2 separate regions of the Homo sapiens genome follow, and region 2 is linked to region 1. The links are contacts of gene promoters, found by promoter capture Hi-C in human tissues and cell types (Jung and others, 2019). All regions are on one chromosome and are shown on one strand. Each heading gives the region's core, a stretch centred on a gene start or on the middle of the fragment in contact. The rest is flanking DNA. Distances are from core to core; before and after follow the strand shown. Region 1 holds the start of BEST3 (bestrophin 3). Region 2 overlaps BEST3 (bestrophin 3).

Region 1 (6,928 bases), core at 1,390-3,889:
TTTTAATAATTATCAGTCAACTACATTAATATCCCTCTTTTCCAAAGGAGATCCTGTTGCTGCAAGGAAGAATGTGAGAGCAATGAAACACAAATTTGTTTATCTGTATGCAGAAGAAAAATAACAAACTATGAACATAGAAAAAATGGAAATACAGCCTCAAAAACCTTTAGCTTTCCTGTTTTAAATTTTAGCTTCCTCCAGAGAAGAAATTTATGCATTCAATTTTAATAAAAAAAGCTTTAAAATCTCATAAGTCTTCCCTTTTATCATACTGATGAAATTTTATTAAGACTATAACTTTTCATCATAAAAATATTTCTTGGACTTGATATTGCTCAAATTTCCTGTCAATCTGACAGGCATATGTTGTAATGTTATAAAGAATAAGCACCTCCTTTTGTGAACATAATATACCCTCAACTCAGAAAACGGAAAGAAAATAAATTATTCTACAGGCCTTTGCTTTAGTTGAGGTACTGTTAAGTGTGGCAGGCATCATCCTGGATAAGATATTTTCATTCCAGGCCAAAAGAAGGAAAGCTTTTCCCTGACATACACCAATCATGAACATGTTGATTATATAGGTAGTTGCTACAAGCTGTCAAATCATCAACTATGAATGACAAGTTGACAGAAGCACAAATAATTATTGTCTGTGGACTTTGCCCATTCAAAAGTCTTTACACAGTAAAGATCTAAGGATAATCCTTCCATTTTGTGCCTATTGCAACAGTCTCGAGGCACAACTGGGGCTGGAATGAAGGCCACCTGAATCTTAACAGTGAGGGTCTATTTTACAACCTAACAATGGTTAGTGGTGGATTAAAATCTGTCCTGAGGGGAAGAAGACAAATGAGAGGCTCACGCAAAAAAGGAGTTCCATAATGCGAAGTCAGTGGCAATCAAAAGGTTCAGATTTTTGAGACTGTATCTTACACAATATCTGATGGCCATTTAAGGAGACATGTAAAGAAAAGTACCTGTATACCAAACTTATTGCTGTATAAAGAACAGCAAAAACAATAAATTCCCTGTACAGTAGTTTGTAGATGCTGCCTCTCCACTTGAGGAGTAACCTATGAAATCCAAAAAAAGTTGCATTTGCTACTTTACTGGAGTAAGTGACAGTCATCTTGGATAGTTTTTTCTAGAAGAGCAAGAAGACAAAACACAAGTAAAAAGCAATGTTTAAAATAGGGCATAAATCTGTATGTCTGTATATCAAGGAAATTCAAGCCAGCAACTAGTCAGCCATATCTCTGTTTTGTCTTTCTTAGTTTCTATAATTCGGAACTTTCAGATAACCATTATCTCAGTTTAGCAGAAAGCAGGAGGAAAGCAGTCTCTGGGAAGAGTAATATTAGACATCTTAAACTTGCCTTAACTGTTAAATATTATTTTTAGATTATATAGCCATTGGCCAATATATATTTGAATGAACAAATGAGACAAACAAGGCCCTCGTGAGAATTTAATTGATGGGGCACTTTTGGTGGGTTTGATTGCATGTAGATGTCTCTCTAGTGGAGGTCCAAATGCATCGTTAGCACTCATTGCATTTCAAAAGTCAGCCAAAAAGTTGGGTCATAGTGATAAATAAGAATGGTGCAGTTTCCCCATGACAAGTTGTACATAAATGCTTAGGGATGGTTCACATTCTCTTTGGAGTTGAACAAAATGAGGTCATTATTTACAACTCTTTCTACTTGAGTCCATTTCATGAATGTGGTTAGGATGAGCACTGGGCCCAAAAGCCTTGTTTTTGGTGAGTTCTTTGGAATTCCACCACTTTTCACCAAGACATTAAATATTCAGGTTTTGAAACAGACAGCGCAAAGCTAATCTTTGAAAATCTTGCTCAATTTCTGGCTAAGATAGAACATATGCAAATAAAATGAGATTTATTTAAAATCTTACTTTTCTCAAAAGGATCTATGAGGAGAGTCTTATAGAGCTACTTAGACTGAAATCATGAAGCTTTTAGATAGAATTGTACTAGACACAAAAAATAAATTCTGTAGCAGATTTCTTTTGTAAAGTAGCCTACACCACACATTTTATCATAAACAAGAAAATTTTCTATCTTTACTCATTGCTGGAAAAACAATTCAACTCTGATTTGCCTATTTTCCCTAAGGAAATGAAACTCTGGAGCTACGTTTACAGCATTTTCTAAAATCACAAACTTAGCTTTCAACATTACTGATTTTAATAAAGAAGGTAGGGCCTTTTGGCACAAGTAAGTGGCATTACAAAAGGATGGGACTCATGCCACAAAACCGGTTTTATTTTTCCATCTTTACCTTGTCTATTTGCCTAGTGCGAATACAGCCAAAATTGGGAGAGGAGCATAATAAATTAAACCCATTTCATAATTTGTTCTCATGGACTCCCGGTAGTTTTAAATAACAGTCCTTAATTAACTTTCCTTTCTTTCATTTAGTAGTTCACTCTTCTTTTCAAGCTCTGCCAGGAAAATGAAAATCACAGCAAGTAGAGGTCAGAATTAAAATGCATAGGTTTACTCTGGGCACTAACCTATTTATTTGGTTTGTAGTCTCCGACAGGAAAGAGAATCTTCAAATTTCGGGCTCCCCCGAAGAGGTGCCTTCAGGTCGGTGCTGCACGCCCGGTGTCACCCTTCGCTCGTGCACAGTCAGATTTTCTTTCTGTTCTCTGGCCACTGAGAGGACCCAGAGTGTGACAAGAACAGGGGTTAAATGTTTTTCCACTTGTAGAGGCCTGTTTATGCCAGTTTAGCCACTGATGACAGTTATAGCTGGGAACAAACAGAAGCAACAGCTGCTGATGCTGCTTTTTTCTAAGCTATAATTATAACTCCACCTGCCACCCCAAGTACCCCTTTGAATGAGAAGTTGGCAGTGACATGAAGGATGTTGGGCCGTTTGTCTGTTAGATTCATTTGACTCCACCCTGGGATCAAGGAAGAAAGGTTGATTTGGCCCTAAAGAGTTCAAAAAAGAGGCCCCACCAGCCAAAAAAAAAAAAAAAAAGTCTTTTTGTGCTTGAAATGAAGATTAAATTCTTAAAACTGGGCTGGAACGCGGTGGCCCACACCTGTAATCCTAGCACTTTGGGAGGCTGAGGCAGGCAGATCACCTGAGGTCAGGAGTTCGAGACCAGCCTGGCCAACATGGTGAAACGCTGTCTCTACTAAAAATACAAAAATTAGCTGGGTCTGGCGGTGGGCTCCTGCAATCCCACCTACTTGGGAGGTTAAGGCTGGAGAATCACTGGAACCCAGGAGGCGGAGGTTGCAGTGAGCTGAGATCACACCACTGCACTCCAGCCTGGGCGACAGAGCGAGACTCTGCCTCAAAAAACAGATGAAAAAATTCTTATGAAGCCATAAACTGGGGCAGACAAGAATATAAACAGGATTTTTGCCACTTGAGAGGTGTTGAAAATGTTCTTCAATTAAAAGCAACGATTATGTGTTAGTGTGTGTGTGGTGTGTGTTTGTGTGTTAGAAGAACACATAGAGAATCATGATATATTGATGGCTTAGTGTAGTGGGAAATAATAACACATGGATTCATCACATTTTTTTTCTTTTAAGATGGAGTCTCGCTCTGTCGCCCAGGCTGGAGTGCAGTGGCACGATCTTGGCTCACTGCAACCTCACCTCCCGGGTTCAAGCGATTTTCCTCCCTCAGCCTCCCAAGTAGCTGGGATTACAGGTGCACACCATCACACCGGCTAATTTTTTATATTTTTGGTAGAGATGAGGCTTCACCATGTTGGCCAGGCTGATCTCGAGCTCCTTACCTCAAGTGATCTGCCTGCCTCGGCCTTCCAAAATGCTGGGATTACAGGCGTGAGGCAACGCACCCGGCCAGATTCATCACATTTGTTATCCTTCCATGGTCAGCTAGGAAATTTTTTCTTTTTTTTTTTGAGATGGAGCTTTGCTCTTCTTGCCCAGGCTGGAGTGCAATGGTGCCGATCACGGTGCACTGCAACCTCCGCCTCCCGGGTTCAAGCGATTCTCCTGCCTCAGCCTCCTGAGTAGCTGGGATTACAGGCATGCGCCACCATGCCCAGCTAATTTTGTATTTTTAGTAGAGACAGGGTTTCTCCATGTTGGTCAGTCTGGTCTTGAACCCCCGACCTCAGGTGATATGCCTGCCTCGGCCTCTCAAAGTGCTGGGATTACAGGTGTGAGCCCACCACACCCGGCGCATAGTTTCTTTCTTTTCTTTTCCTTCCTTCCTTCCTTCCTTCCTTCCTTCCTTCCTTCCTTCCTTCCTTCCTTCCTTCCTTCGTTCCTTCCTTCGTTCCTTCCTTCCTTCCTTCCTTCCCTCCCTCCCTCCCTCCCTCTCTCTCTCTCTCTTCTTTCTTTCTTTCTTTTTTTGAGACACAGTCTCACTCTGTCGCTTAGGCTGGAGTGCAATGGCACAATCTTGGCTCACTGCAACCTCTGCCTCCTGGGTTCATGCAATTCTCCTGCCTTAGCCTCCCGAGTAGCTGGGACTACAGGCGTGTCCCACCACACCTGGCTAATTTTTGTATTTTTGGTAGAGAGGGAGTTTCACCATATTGGTCAGGCTGGTCTTGAACTCCTGACCTGGTGATTCGCCCTCCTCAGCCTCCCAAAGTGCTGGAATTATAGGCGTGAGCCATCGCGCCCAGCCCCATATTTTCTTTCTTAAAAGAGAGAATTCACCAGCGTTCTTTAAGTAATAAAATAAATAATTTCAGGGCCAATTCCTGGGACTTTTCCAACCTTCTAAAGTAACTTGTGCACCCTTGCACCTTAACTTAAAGAAAATGTATTTTTGTGGAGAAAGATATAGAAAAAAATGCTTATTCTAAAATTAAGATTACATATAATTAAATTTTTCTAAAACAGTAAGTTTTATATGCATTTCGCTGGATTCTTTATCAAATTCTAGGTACCTTAGATTAGAGCAAAGCCAGGGCTGTAGGTATCTTTTTAATTTCTTGCCCCCATCCCTGTTCATAATTCCAGTATGGAGCCCTGTGAATAATGAATATTTAGTATGTATTTGCTGTTTGATTATTCCTTACCTTCACTATTATAATTCTGTTGGTTATTTGAGGGAATTTGTGAACATTTAAAAAGCATATATACAATGTTGCACATCTTATGTTGTGTTGCCATGAAAAGTGGTCTGATAGATCTGATGTTATGTTTATAAAGGTTTGCAAGACGAATCTCAGCAAATCTAAACCCAAATGCTTATGAAATAGGAACATCGGAGGTATTTTGTAAAATTCTCACTCTTGCATCTCCTATTGGTTGTGTGGTGGCCCTGACAGCTGGCATATTCCCAGCAGCCATGACTGCATAGCTAGGGGATCTGCCTCTGTGGGGCACTGAACGCACTGTTGGTTGGTTTCATTTCTAAACAGGGATAATTATGTTCCTCTCTCCCATTGGGTTGTTTTGAGGAATGACTAATTAATGGTTGGAGACAGCATTCTAAATGCAAATTAGTCAATAATGATCAGATTGAATGAACAAACTCCCATTGTTGAGCTCTGAATCTGGTGGTGATTTCTAACAGGTACTGAAAGAGGCCTTGTCGAAATAGCCCTGCTTAGAGGAGACAAGCCACTAAAGCTTATTTTAAAATATCCAACAAACACCGGATTGCAAAGTTGAAGGCTCATATCACTTTTTAAATCGAACTTTAAAGTTTCTTTAGAAATTTTTTTCCAGATTCTAAAAGTAAAATATGATTATTAAAAAATAAAAAGGAAAACAACATATAAAGAAGACAGTGGCACTCTGTCCTGCCACACTAGAGGGGTGGTATCATTTGGCATAAAGTTAATCTTGCTAGACTTTTGTGGAAAATATTTTAACCCTATAATTAATAGCAAACGATATGATAGACCCTTAGGCAATTTCAGGGCTCTATGAAATAACTATACCAGCCATATTTTCCCTTGACAGTAAACATCAAGTTATGTGATTTTGACCACTCTGATTTTCAACAGTCCAGAGTAGCACATTTGTCTTTGATTCCAGTAAACCTCCAATGACAGGGCAATTCATAGAAAAGAACAAGGAATCATTTCCACTTGGAATCCTGATATTCACCTATAGATGTCAAAATAAATCTCTTTGTTCCTTAAGGAAACAGGAAATAGTAACAACAACAAGTTTACGTAGCCAATACCACCTTCTACTTGAGAAGCAGCTATTTAGAAAGCCCCACATTCATTTTAAACTGATTTGACATGTCTCCACTGACATGAGAAGTCTCTTGTCAAATTTCTTCTGAGTGATTAGTTGAACATAAATTGTGTGTAGATAACACATGTATTCAAATATTAACCAAAGACCAGACGTTGTATTTTGGAGGATTTGATTCTGAACCTAAGACTTTGGGACATTACTAAGTGGGCAATCAATCAATGTTTTTGATGGGGAAAGGGTTCGAAAAAATCCGAGCTGCAGAAATGTGAGTCTCTGGGAAGAGTGTGTGATGAATTGGAGTGGGTAGGGACTATAGAAGGGGAATCAATTTGAAGGTTATTTTGGTTGTTCTGGGATAAACTGGGATGGTGGGTGGGTGGGTGGGTGGAATGCAGAGGAAGGATGGTGGGAGAGAGCCCAGGGGATAGCTACCACTGCAGGGAGGGGAAGAAGAGCAGGGGTAGGCGAGAGGAGGAGGAGAAGGAGGAGGAGGAAAAGGAGGAGGCAAGAGGAGGAGGAGGAGGAAAGAGAAGTATCATATGACACTTCCTTTGTCCTTTGAGTCTGTTTGCTCATGAAGAACAAAGATTATGGAACATGATTCTCAAATTTGTTCAGGTATGCTGTTCTTGATGACATGCCATGAACTTTTGATGTGTTTTATTTTATCCTGCAAATAAAAACATTCTACCAGCAAAAATGGATGCAAACTCAAGTTTCAAGTGGGAGCCCATG
Region 2 (5,914 bases), core at 3,374-5,873, 45 kb before region 1:
TTATATAAAGTATAATCTAAGGAAATTACAATCATGCCAGCAATGGCATTTAGCTACTCTTACTGGTAGGAGCCATTCAAGGAATCTAAGCATGAACCTCGGGGTTCAAATCTGATTTTTCTGAATTTGAGATATCAGATCCTCTATCATCAAGGGAGAAATGGTAATTACTTCACAGCTTGTACATAGAATAGGAATTTAGCCTGTTGCTGGGCTAATCTGTTCTCTTCTAGTTCTATTTCTTCCTCTAGCTCATCTCTTATCATTAATCTCCTTGATGGTTGTCTCATTTTTACCTTCTTATTGGCCTAAATCAGCTTTCTCAAACTTGGTATATTGGGCCAAATAGTTGTGGACGTCTGTCCTGTGCCTTGTAGGATGTTTAGCAGCATTTCTGGCCTCTACCCACTAGATGCCAGAAATACTCCCCAGCCTGACAACTAAAATTATCTCCAGACATTGTCAAATATCTTCTGGGTGCAAAGCCATCTCTGGCTGAGAGCCACTGGCCTAGACAAAAAACCTGGAACGCACCAGCGCTTTTGTGCAAAACCCATTTTAGAAACGTTCTTATTTGTTTTCTGGATACAAGATACAACATTCCCTTTGCTGCTTCTGGCAAATGTCTAAAATTAGAAGATCAGAGATGATTCTAGGTAACCACCTGGCCACATCTACCTGTGGCAAAAGGAAGGTTTGAGTCCACTTTCTGAATTAACTCAGAGACAAAACAAAATAAAACACAAAAACGTAATCTCCAAACTGAATTAATTATTTGAGCAAATGTGGTTTTTGGGTCTCTATTTTACAGGGAAATTGGTGCATTTTCCATTTGCCATGGCCAGGCATGAGCTGACTGCACAGGTGGAGGTGATGAAGAGAGAGAGTTTGGAGAGAGGTGAATGTTTGTTAGGATTCTGTCTCTCAAGCTTTGCCAGTGAATAGGAATATTTTTTCTGGGTTTTGTAAATTTGCAAAAAGAGAATGATCCTGGTATTCTTGAATTGGTTCTTTCGACTCAGTGGCCACATGAGTGGAAAAGCCTGTCCCAAAAATTAAGGTCCATAGAACTAAAAAAACAAAAAAGCATGCAAAAGTATTGAGGACCTATCTGACATAGTTCAACAAGACAAAATGAGGAAATCCTTGGTTGTTACTGTTAATAGCCCAGCACATCAGAAAATGTTTGTTGTTGATCATGTAGATGATTGTGATAAGAGAGGGGCAGGGGGAATTAGGTTTCAACCTGCTCTTGCTTAGGAGTTTTTACAGTTGTAGTTGTTCTTTCTAATTAACTGATCCAGGACCAGGTTTAGGGAGATTAGATACCTCAAGAGGGTCTTCTAACTTTGAACCAGGGGTTCTAAATCCTCTAGATTTATAGTGGAGAAAACAGAAGCAACTACTTTTCTCCAGTTCCATGTTTTGATTGAGGGGATGGAGACACATAATGGGTTAGAGGAGGAATTCATTGCCATGGTGATGAGGCCTGGGATATGGTGGACAGTGAAGAACTATGACAAAAAACACTGCAGAGAAAGAAGATGTGGGAGGAGTTGGGAAGCATATGAAAGGAAAAAAAAACCAAGAGAGAAATGACTAGATTAATAATTTGGAAGCTTAATGGTGTGTGTCTTAGAAGAAAAGTTTTCTGAGCCAGGCACAGTGGTGCATGTCTGTAAGCCCCAGCTTCTCCGGAGGCTGAGACAGGCAGATCTCTTGAGCTAGGGAGTTCAAGGCCAGCCTGGGCAACATAGCAGGACTTGTCTCTAAAAAAAGAAGGAAAGCTTCCTGAATGAAAGAGGCTAGAATCCTGTAGAATAAGTAGATCCTGGCAAACAAGTGACTAAATGAGGAAGAGAGGAAGGGCTTTTTCTGAAGTTCATAGTGAATCCATGGGAACATTAATCCCCAGTCATGCTTGCCATCCATACAGTGCTGCTGCATTCCCAGCCTCCTCTCACGATGCCTCATGAAGGGCAAGTGAAATGAGCCAGAAAAGAGCCCATTTTATAGATGAGAATAAGAAGTTCAGAAGAACGCAGACTTGTTCAAATTTGTAAAGGAAAACACTGGTTTTCCTTATCCCATTATAACTCATGGCCACTTGGGCTCAGTAGATTCTCAGAGAGTAGATTTTATGACATTAAGAGCTCAGAAAAATGACTTAAAATGGAATCAAACAGGGTGTGGTGGCTCATGCCTATAATCCCAGCACTTTGGGAGGCCAAGATGGGTGGATCACTTGAGGTCAGGAGTTCAAGACCAGCCTGGCCAACATGGTGAAACCCTGTCTCTACTAAAAATACAAAAAAATTAGCCAGGTGTGATGGCGGGTCCCTGTAATCCAAGCTACTCGGGAGACTGAGGCAGGAGAATTGCTTAAACCCAGGAGGTGGAGGTTGCAGTGAGCAGAGATTGTGCCACTGCACTCCAGCTCTGGGCGACAAAGTGAGACTCTGTCTCAAAAAAAAAAGAAAAAAAAAAAAAGAAAGAAAAAAATTGAATTGATTTTTCTGGAGAAGAAGGAAGCTAGAGGCGAAAACACCAAAAACAAGAGGAGTATTTCTAAGATTTAAACAAATCTTTACTTTCATGGCAAATTTTACATTTCTCCATTCCATTTAAAATATTTTCCATAGCTTAGCTGAACCAGGCTGAAAGTGGATGTCTGGAGTGGTGGAGGCGATACACCATGAAGTAGACAGGACAATAAAGGAAGGGGAGATAACAGCCTTCTTTGTTTTGCTGGGTGCCAGTCATTCTCTAAAATTCTTGGAAAATTGAGAAAAAGTTAGTGGGCCATTTCCTTACTGAACTACAAACCCCAGCATCAGGGCAGAGTTATCTCTACAAAGCAGGGAGAGAACGCAACAAATAGAGCTTGGCCTCACCGCACTCTCTGGCTTTTGGATCACATTTAATGTGAGAGAGTTGAGCCTGTTCTTGGAATGGGCAAACTCAAAAGATTAAGCCACCAGGCCATGTGACCATTCATCCAGGTGGGTGAAGGTTCCAGGACTCAGGGAAAAAGGAGCTAGGCAGGCAATGAAATCAGGTACATGAGAAGAAATCATTTTGTTTTTTTCAACCGTGGTCTGTGTTGAGTAAAAACTCATTTTAGAATTAATAGAGAATTTCTTCATCTGCTCTGAGCAATTGCTGGTTTGATTTTATAGCTGAATTCAACCACACGGGCTCATTGAGCATGTCATAATTTAGTTTTCATTGCAAGAAGAAAATGAGAGTCTATCTCAAATTTTGAAGAAATATTGAGGAAATTAAAAAATTATCTGGATAAAAGTGCATAAGGGGCGTGTGGAAGCAGAGATAAATGAACACTGCCAGCCCTTCATAAATGTATTATTATATTTGTGTATAATTTATCACCTTGGATTTAGGAATGAAAACTGATTATGTTTCAAAAGCAGCTAAGTAGAAACTTACTTGAATTTGAGCAACAGACAGAGCTAAAGAGAAGAGAATAGACAGACTGAAATTGAAATACCCAAGAAAATAGCATTAAGAGCCTGGTGACTGGGAGAAGGTTAGGGATCCTGCCTTCTAGAAGTGTTATATTGGCTCTTGATCCCATAGTCTATACGTAGTGCTTTGGGAATAACGGGGCTTTCCCAGATGCTAACACTACCAACCAACATAGAGAACCATCAAGGTATAGCATTTCCTCTAATATTATTTCTTTTCAGTCCTTTGAGAAAAGTCAGTTAAAGTAAATGTCATTGTTGTCATGCAGCTTGGAGGCCTGGGAGATATGAGGTCTTGTGAAAATGTGCTAATTTGAACATTGCGTATCAGGAGGAGTTGGTGAAGGGAAGGAGGGTCCTGCCAACTTTTTTCTGTCATGAAAAATGAAGAGGACTATGGGTGGTACTCCAAGCTGGAGCAATGCCCTTCTCTATGAATGCATAAAAGACGCAGGTAGACTTGAGCGGGGAGGACCCAGAGAGGCCCTTGAGGCTGGAGAGATTTAGCCTGAATCTGTGAGTTGGGCATGCCTCCCTTGGGGCATCCTCCAGAATGCTGGGCAAATTGCTGGCAGATTCAGGGCCTTACACATAGCACAGGGCAGTGAGAAAGCATAGTGGTTAACAGTGTGGGCTCTTGAGTCAGATAAACCTGGGTTTGAAGATGAACACTGTCACTTCTCGGCTATGTGATTTTAGGCAAATACCTTACTTCTCTAAAGCCTGTTTCTCTCGTCTTTAAAATGGAAATAACAGTATATCAGTCTCATAAGATTCGCTGCTGCCTGGAACAGTGTAAGCACTCAATAAATGGTAGTTTTGAGGGTTATTTTATTTCTAAAGCCATATGTAGTCAAGTGCCATCATATGACAAATGGTAAGTGCAGCAGTCGTAAGGCATGGCCTAGGCACTTGGGAGCCCACGACAAACAGCTGTCCTGAGAGCTCCCTGGGAGGAGTACCAACATCCGATCCCCATTATGCAGCTCTGGACCCCATTAGCCTCCCAGCTCCAGTATCCTGCCCATTCCCAAATGACCCGATAGACACAGTAACTGGTCCCGTGTTGCGACACGATTAGGATTTTTGCATAAGAGTTCAAGTTAAACAGATGTGAGTCATCTTATTCTTTGGTTCCATAGCATTTGGCTATGCAAATTTCATATTCTCTTGGCTTCGTTTTTCTCCAGTGCCCAACACCAAATAGTGGAAGCAGAAAGAAATGTCAATGGCTGCAAGGGCACGGGGGGAACCATCACTCCTATATGCCTTCCACTGGAAGTGAGACTGGAAGGGTATCAGGCTGGATTTGTTGACACCTTTGATGATTCTGTAGGAGGCTTTGCCAATGTCTTATATTTTGAAATTCATGGCAAGACATAAGCAACAGATTTGGCAAGAGGAAATATTATAACCTGAAAAATGGGACAGATTACTAGAAAAGCAGCACAACCAGGGAGAAGGGAAGGGAAAAAAAGGATGACAGAATAAAAGGAAAAGAGAGAAAAGTAAAAAAGGAAATTGAAGAGAATTAAGTGTTCTGGTGCTGATGAAGCTTAAGAATCAGGAAGTGATAATAACAATAATAGTTATAAAAGTAGGAATGAGATGGTTAGAAAGCCTCAAACAAAAACGTTAGGAAGGAGGGGATCTTTCAGGCATTAGGTGATCCATCTCCTTTCTTTATGGCTAAAGAAAAAAAGAAAGAGAAAAAAGAAGAGAAATAGAGAACCCTGCGTGTCTGGGCCTTTGGGTCTAGGGGATTGGACTATGATCTATGAGACTCTTTCCACAACTAATAATCTATGAATTTATAAGTCATGTATGTTTTTCAGATTCCTTTTTTTGGTTAAGACTTATTTGGCTAAATCACTGTGGTCTGTGTAACTTCTGATGAAAGCCATGTTGTGTTGGATGACGTGAATGCGTTTGATTTTTCGCAGCTCTCAAAAAGTCAGGATCATAATGCCCTTCAAAGTTCTAAGTAGCTTATACAGTGTGATCATGTTTTTTAAAAAGTCGACCAGCCTTCAGGTATGTCCTGGGCCTAATATGCTGCTTTTGGGGAGGTAAGAATCTAGGCTAGAACCAGGTCCTAGAACTTGGTGGCACTCATTTGGGTGATTCCTCAGTTTCCTTGTTCAGCTCTATGATATCTGTTTCCTTGGTGTCCAGGTTTTCCATTAAATACAGCATATCAGAAGAGACTCGAGAGCCAGCCACAATGTTGATCCCACTGATCTCTGAGGATGTTTCTGTGTCAATTAAAAGAGCTGGCTGAGAGCTCATGGGGTCTGGACTTAGGTTTCCCAGGGAAGTGTGGCTGGACCCCAGGAATCCCGGAAGACTCCACCTTTTTAGAAAGGTATCACCAGGGTCTTCTTCACAGTTGAATATATTTTCCTCAGCGCTGGCTGAAACTGTCTGGG

The links. The method cuts DNA at HindIII sites, captures the fragments that hold promoters and counts their contacts. A contact is called where the count stands out against the background at its distance.
Region 2: a fragment that was not itself captured here is called in contact with the fragment with the promoter of BEST3 in region 1 in 1 of the 25 tissues and cell types used here (aorta).

What each region holds. Positions count from the first base shown.
Region 1 is chr12:69,696,664-69,703,591 of GRCh38, forward strand. BEST3 (bestrophin 3) reads right to left here and starts at 2,640. Exons shown (of 10, transcript NM_032735.3): 1 at 2,542-2,640; 2 at 984-1,150. The coding sequence starts at 1,135. The HindIII fragment of the contact is 5,542 bases long and covers 1,262-6,803 here.
Region 2 is chr12:69,649,310-69,655,223 of GRCh38, forward strand. It overlaps BEST3 (bestrophin 3), which reads right to left. Exons shown (of 10, transcript NM_032735.3): 10 at 4,300-5,914. The coding sequence ends at 5,598. The region is part of intron 3 of LOC105369823 (a long non-coding RNA gene); the gene reads left to right. Among named protein-coding and RNA genes, the nearest start is that of LRRC10, 41 kb to the left of the region's middle. The HindIII fragment of the contact is 6,699 bases long and covers 1,275-5,914 here.